Linked DNA regions of Homo sapiens: region 2 is linked to region 1. Evidence: promoter capture Hi-C in human tissues and cell types (Jung and others, 2019). All regions are on one chromosome and are shown on one strand. Each heading gives the region's core, a stretch centred on a gene start or on the middle of the fragment in contact. The rest is flanking DNA. Distances are from core to core; before and after follow the strand shown. Region 1 holds the start of PGD (phosphogluconate dehydrogenase). Region 2 overlaps UBE4B (ubiquitination factor E4B).

Region 1 (3,699 bases), core at 497-2,996:
CCTTAATGTTTATTGAAATGTCTGTTAGTATTCTCAGAATTACTACCACCAAAGGACAAAGTTACTTCATAAGCGCTTATCAAGTTAACCAACACTGCAACAGTTAAGCAATCATTTGGTCAGAGCTTAGCAGAAATTGAAAAAAAAAAATCTCTAGAGTTAAAAGAAGGAGAACTAAAGGAAGAAACCAAAAACAGCTGCTATCGTGGTAGCAGCTGAGAGCACAGCTGGCCTCACCAATTTCTCGATGAAATCATCCACAGCTTGCCCAGCCTTCACCAGGAGGATGATCCGCCGGGGCTTCTTCAGCTTGGAGACCATCTCTTTCAGGGACTGGGCACCCACCACTTTGGTTCCCTTTGCCTCATTGGCCAAGAAATCATCAACTTTGGAGACAGTCCTATTAAAAGCACAGACCTAGAAGGACAAAAGTCCTGAGTAGGAGATCCAGGACACACAAGACTTTCAGACTGTGGCCAAAGTAACAATGACCTTTCCATTCAACCCAAGTTCTGGGGAGGTCAGACCTGCCTTTGCCTTTTCTTCCCCCAGCTGTGGGAGGCTCACTGTAAAGTTATGTCACCTCAGTAGGATGAAAACGGCGGACAACCGAGGCGAAGGCCAACTACCCCCGGTGTGTCAGGTAGAATCCACACCCAACGTGTTAGGACTCAAAATCAAATCCAGGAACTGGCCGGTTCAACAGGCTCTATCTGTTGTTATTGATCATCCTGGCGTCTAAGCCACTTTAACATTTAGAAGAAACATTTTCACTCTCCCCAGATCTCATCAGGCAATCAAGTTAGAGCTCTACACAGCCAGCAAGGGTTCTCCTCCCGCACCCTTCTTCTCTACTTAAGACACTAATTCGTTCATTCGGGCTGTGAACCTCACGGACCCACAGGCACACTCCGCAGGACTAAGTTCGGGATCGGCCCGCCCACGCCTACAGGGTGCTTCTCCTTTCCATACAAAAATGCCACGAGCAGCAACAGAGCACATTAGCAAAGCACGGCCAGGAGACCCGTAAGCTCCCAAACCTATCGCCGGCCTCGGCTAAAGCGCCCGGGAACCAGAGAGAAGACAACGCGCCCACGCCGCTTACCACAAAGCCGTGGTCATTCATGTTCAGAATTAAGTTCTGGCCCATGACGGCCAATCCGATCAGCGCGATGTCAGCTCTAGAGAGGCAGAAACAGAACAAAGGAAAGAGTCAGCACCGCTCGACGCGCTGCAACCCAGGGGTCCGGTCCTTCCACATTTGGCCGTGACTGGGAGTCTGCACTTTCCTCCGCGCCTCCCGCGGGCCCCCAGAAGCCGGGCGCGCACGCTGCAGAGCCTCGGCCGGGCAGGCGGCCCCCAGCCCCGCCCTCGCGCCCGGCTCCCGCTGGCACGCGTCCCGCAGGTGTCCCTGCAGACTCGGCGAGGCCTGGCCGCGCCTCCTCCCTGGCCCTCGAAGGGACCCGCCCCGCCCCATGCCTGCGCGGCCGAGAGGGCAGGGGGCCGGGCCCGCAGGGAAGGAGCTCTGGGCCCGAGACGCCGTAGGGCCAGGGTCACAGAGCCCCAAGTGAGCTCAGGCGACCCCCAGGGTGGGAGGCGTCGGAGAGAACGAGGGAGATCTCGACCCCCAAAGAGTTCCCCGCCCGCTGAGGCCGAGCCGGGCTGCCCCTGGCGAGTCACTCACTGGGCCATGGCGGCGGACAGAGCAGAACCGAAGAGCGGCGACGCGCGGAGGACGAGTGAGGGAAAGACCCGCAGCGGCTCCCTCCAGAAACTGCGGCCGCTCACGCCCGGCTTTTCGGCGCCGGCCAATCGAATGGAAGGGGGTGGAGCCATGAAGCCACACCATTGGCTCTCCCCGACGCCTGTTAGACCATCCGAGGCAAACGTGCCCGCCCACCCCCGGGGGCCGGATCAGTGGAGCGCCGAGCACCTAGATGACATTGCCCCGGCGAGGCTCCGGGCTCCCCGCCCACGCGCAGAGCTTTCCGCTCGTCCCAGCTGCACCTCGGTCCTGCAGGCCGTCCGCCTGGCGCAGCTGTAGCCATAGCAACTCACGCAGGACCGCGCTTTACAGTTTACCAGGCACTCGGACGCCTTTGGCGCGAGCGCCCGTCGCTCCTTCCTCAGGTCACTGCGGTGCACCGTGCGGGTCCGCGTCGTGTCCTCCGCTCCGGAGCAGGGACCGGGCGTGCTCGTTCAGTCCTGTGCGCACTCGGAATGGGGCCGGGGAAGGCTGAGCCTCAGGGCGACCCTGATGTGGAGCCGTGCGACCGCTCACTGCGGTTGAAGAGACCCAGGCGCAGACAGCGCAGGCGGGGTATGTATTGGTTGGAGTATGATGGGGTCAGGACTTGAGTCTTTTACCCAGGCCCGGAGTTAACGGTATTGAACCCCTTCTCATTTTGTAGAGGCTATGTGACCCGCGAGATGGACCAGGTTAAATGCAGAGGCAGATACAAAAAACCAGCCATCTTAAGCCAGACATTTGCAAAGTAGCCAAGCAGCGCTTCTTATCTTACTGAGTCCCTTCTTGCTAGGAGGAAATTGTTATTCAGAAGTTTGAGTTTTAGATTTTTTTTGTTTTTTTTGAGACGGAGTCTCGCACTGTCGCCCGGGCTGGAATGCAGTGGTGTGATCTCAGCTCACTGCACCTTCCGCCTCCCGGGTTCAAGCAATTTTCCTGCCTCAGCCTCCCAAGTAGCTGGGATTACAGGCGCCCGCCACCACGCCCAGCTAATTTTTGTATTTTTAGTAGAGATGGGGTTTCACCATCTTGGCCAGGCTGGTCTCAAACTCCTGACCTCGTGATCCGCCCGCCTTGGCCTCCCAAAGTGCTGAGATTACCGGCGTGAGCCACCGTGCCCGGCCTTTTTTTGATGTCATTGTTGAGATGGAGTCTGGCTGTGTCTCCAGGCTGGAGGGCAGTGGCGCGATCTGGGCTCACTGCAACCTCCACCTCCCAGGTTCAAGCGATTCTCCTGCCTCAGCCTCCCAAGTAGCTGGGACTACAGGTGTGTGCCACCATGCCCAGCTAATGTTTTTATTTTTAGTAGAGACAGGGTTTCACCATGTTGGCCAGGCTGGTCTCGAACTCCTAACCTCAAGTGATCCACCCACCTCAGCCTCCCAAAGTTCTGGGATTAGAGGTGTGAGCCACTGTGCCCGGCCGGTTTTTAATTTTTATAAAGACCAGGTCTTTGCTCTGTTGCCCAGGCTGGAGTGCAGTGGCATGACCATAGCTTACTGCAGCCTTGAACTCCTGAGGTCGAGCAATCTTCTAGCCTCAACTTCCTGAGTAGCTAGGACTACAGGCATGCAACACCATGCCCGGCTAAGACATCCTACTTTAAAATATGTCAAACTTCACAGCACAGTTCTTTTTTTAAAATACAGATTTAATGAGATAATTTACATGTCATACAATTCAAACATTGTAAGTACACATTTGGATGACCTTTAATTTATACTGTTGTGTAGCCATCACCATAATCCACTTATAGAAAACTTCCATCACCCCAAAACGTTCCCTTGGGCCTATTTGTAGTCAGTCTCTGCTCTCACCCCCAGCCAACCTCTGATCTACTTTGCATGGTTTTTGCCTTTTCCAGAAATTTCATAGAAATGGAATAATAGCATATAATTTTTTTGGTCTGGCTTCTTTCACTTAGCATCACGTTTCTGAGGCTCATCTGTGTT
Region 2 (3,699 bases), core at 628-3,127, 240 kb after region 1:
AGTGCTGGGATTACAGGCGTGAGCCACCACCCCTGGCCTAATATTTATTTTTAAAGGATGGAATGCTTTATGAATTTGCATGTCATCCTCGAGCAGGGGCCATGGTAATCTTCTCTGCATTGTTCCAATGTTAGTATACGTGCTGCTGAAGCAAGCATGTGAGACTTTGTCTCTATAAAAAAAATTTTTTTAATTAGCCAAGCGTGGTGGTACATGCTTGTAGATCCAGCTCTTTGGATCTACAAAGGCTGAGGCAGGAGGATCACTTGAGTCCAGGAGGTTGAGGCTGTGGTGTGCTATGATCCTGCCAGTGCACTCCAGCCAAGGCGACAGATCAACACTCTGTCTTTATTTATTAATAATAATAAAAAACAAATAAGTAAATAAAATATAAGCTGGGCATACCAAGCACTGTGAATGGTATAAAGTGGGTGTTACAGAAGTAAGGAGAAAGGTGAGAATTTTCAGCTATGCTGATTGGCGAAGACAAACCTGAGGGAGTATTTGGATAGGACCTTACTCAGAGAATGGGTAGAACTTTAATACATAAGAAGAAAAGCAGGTATAAATGGGAGCTAAACATTGGTACACATGGACGGAGACGGGAATAACAGACACTGGGGACTACAAGGGAGGGGAGTGAGGGAGGAGTGAGGGTTGAAAACTACCTATTAGGTATTATGCTCACTCCCTGGGTGACAGGCTGAATCATAAAGCCTCAGCATCACGGTATACCCATGTAACAAACCTGCACATGTACCCCATCCCCTGAATCTAAAATAAAAGTTGAAATTAAAAAAGAAAAAAAAAAAAAAAAAGTCTGGGCGCGGTGACTCACGCCTGTAGTCCCAGCACTTTGGGAGGCTGAGGCGGATGGATCACCTGAGGTCAGGAGTCCAAGACAGGCCTGGCCAACATGGTGAAACCCCGTCACTACTAAAAATACAAAAATTGTCCGGGTGCAATGGCTCACGCCTGTAATCCCAGCACTTTGGGAGGCCGAGGAAGGCGGATCACAAGGTCAGGAGATCGAGACCATCCTGGCTAACACGGTGAAACCCCATCTCTACTAAAAATACAAAAAATAAGCCAGGCGTAGTGGCAGGTGCCTGTAGTCCCAACTACTTGGGAGGCTGAGGCAGGAGAATCACTTGTACCCAGGAGGCAAAGATTGCAGTGAGCTGAGATCGTGCCACTGCACTCCAGCATGGGTGAAAGAGCAAGACTCCGTCTCAAAAACAAACAAACAAAATACAAAAACTAGCCAGGTGTGGTGGCAGGCGCCTGTAATCCCAGCTATTCAGAAGGCTGAGGCACGAAAATCGCTTCAACCGGAGAAGCGGGGATTGCAGTGAGAAGAGATCGCACCACTGTACTCCTGCGTGGGCGACAAGAGTGAAACTCCGTCTCAAAAAAAAAAAAAAAAGAAAAAGTGAAGAAAAAGCAGTCCCCACTTTGACATGAGAACCCCTTATGGAAATCAGTTCTGATTCTGAGCCTGACAATTCCAAGAACAGAATCAATAAACCTAAGCCAATCTAAGAAGTCACCAGCAACTGTCAAGGGCCTCATAAGCGACCAAGGAAGTATCTCAGTGGCTGCTACGCACGTCAGGAAAGAGCACTGGTACTGGCACGGCACGTGCTTTCCATGGAACCTGGCAAGCCAGGCCTCTTTTCTATTAATAACTGAATATAAAACCCAAGATCAACTGAAAGGGAAAAAACACCCCGCCAGGATCCTGAGTGATTCACACAGTTGCCTAGAGAAGCCCATAGGAACAAATCAAATTCTTGTCCAGCAGACATAATTCTAGAGATTTCTTTCCTAATTATGTTCATGAATATTAATATATTCAGACAATAAAAGCTCATCTCCAAAAAAGCCCTTTAAAATTAAAAAGGCAGAGAAAGTTTTCAGTGTACATTTTCAAAGACTTCTCAACCCATTTCTTAGCTTCAGATAAGGTATTTAAGAATTTTCCTATTCCAATCCTGCAATATGATTTCATGGAAGGAAAATCCCAGCATGTCAGATCGCATATCATCAGACCCACAAATGCAGCCCCAAAGCAGCTCTGCCCGTGTGTGGAGGCAGATGGCCTGCAAAGCTGTCCAAGCCTCTGGACCACGTCCTCACCCGGGGCAACTGGTCCCACTGTTCTTTGTTCTTCATCTCTTCCTGCACTTCATGGATTCGCTTCAGAGACTCCAGACTTTCATCGAGCAAAAACGTCGTGTCGTTTATCAACATGTTTATATAGCGAACAAACTGCTTCCCGGAGCTGGAAAGGCAATTATATTGTACATGGTCATACATCTCCCTGAAGCAAAATGCCACAGCAAATCCCAGGGAACAAGCACCTCCACCCAGACTGCAACTATCTCACCCTAAAAGCCTGGCTACCCTGGCACAAGTCAGGCACTATGGAATTCAAGGACCACCAAGCTTCTCTTTAGATTATGTTAATCTTGTTTCTTTTTGAGACAGGGTCTCACTCTGTCGCCCAGCCTGGAATGCAGTGGCACAATCACAGCTCACTGCATCCTCGACCTCCAGGGCTCAAGCAATCTTCCTGCCTCAGCCTCCTAAGTAGCTGGAACTACAGGCACACACCACCACGCCCAGCTTTTGTATTTTTTGTAGAGACAGGGACTTGTTATGTTGCCAGGGCTGGTCTCAAACTCCTGGGCTCAAGCGTTCCTCCCACCTCAGCCCCTCAAAATGTTGGGATTACAGAGATGAGCCACCACACCTGGCCTGGATTTTGTTATTCTTTTAAATTGTTTATGATAAGCTCATTCCAGTGGTATTTGGAGCCACCTTGCACGGCTGATGACAGTCAAGTGCTAAATATTCCAGAATTTTATAACCAGATTCCCCTGGCACCTTAAATTGGGCAACAGAGGAAACAGTCACACCATGGAAAACCAGCAAATGCTGACTCCCCCACCCTGCTTCCCAGAGCAGGCTTACCAGCACACCCCTAGCTCACTCCCTCAATGTTTTTAAGGAGAGAAAACACTTCTTCCAGACTAGAACAGGAAAAACGCATATACTCACCAATATACCAAGAAAATGCAAATAATTAACCACATACAACAGATAAGAAAACAACTGATATAGTTATTCCTTATCACAAAGACTGACGCATGGAAGAAAAATTGGAACCTGTAATATTGATAAAGTGGGATATTAACTTACTTTAAAACTGGAAGCCTCCAATCTAAGGAACTGTTCTGCAGATCGTGTTATAATGAGAACTTGCTGGTGAACTGAAATAGCTTGGCCTACCTCTGTTAGACTCTGGAGATGCCAGATTCGTAGAGAAAAAAAGAAGCTACACTTCAGGGTCTACAACTGTGCAACTACGGGGTGGTAAGCCCATGCTGGAGAAGAGAAGTTCCTGTGAACAAGTGCAGGAGGCCTCGATCTCAGGAACATGGCAAGTTCAGGACAAGCGCTCCAATCAGCACCATTCAGACCAAGCCATGGGCCTGCCTCGTGCCAGGCTTTAGCTGGAACACAATTCTGACCATAAGAGCAGTTTATGGAAACAAAAAGTTAAAAAGTTTGCTTCACAGAAATCTATCTGGCAAATAGTTATTCCACTGGTAATTTGTATATTATTGACTAGTAATTCGGTTAACAAGTATAGCTAGATTTGATCAAAGATCTAACATGGGTTGCAAAAGATCC

Evidence for each region. The method cuts DNA at HindIII sites, captures the fragments that hold promoters and counts their contacts. A contact is called where the count stands out against the background at its distance.
Region 2: a contact is called between a fragment that was not itself captured here and the fragment with the promoter of PGD in region 1, in 1 of the 25 tissues and cell types used here (hippocampus).

Annotation. Positions count from the first base shown.
Region 1 is chr1:10,397,111-10,400,809 of GRCh38, reverse strand. It overlaps PGD (phosphogluconate dehydrogenase), which reads right to left and starts at 1,746. Exons shown (of 13, transcript NM_002631.4): 1 at 1,685-1,746; 2 at 1,106-1,181; 3 at 238-417. The coding sequence starts at 1,692. RefSeq lists silencers at 980-1,156, 1,249-1,568 and an enhancer at 2,049-2,358. The HindIII fragment of the contact is 25,181 bases long and covers 1-3,699 here.
Region 2 is chr1:10,159,727-10,163,425 of GRCh38, reverse strand. UBE4B (ubiquitination factor E4B) reads right to left here. Exons shown (of 28, transcript NM_001105562.3): 23 at 2,140-2,284. It also overlaps the pseudogene RNU6-828P. Among named protein-coding and RNA genes, the nearest start is that of KIF1B, 49 kb to the left of the region's middle. The HindIII fragment of the contact is 4,286 bases long and covers 1-3,699 here.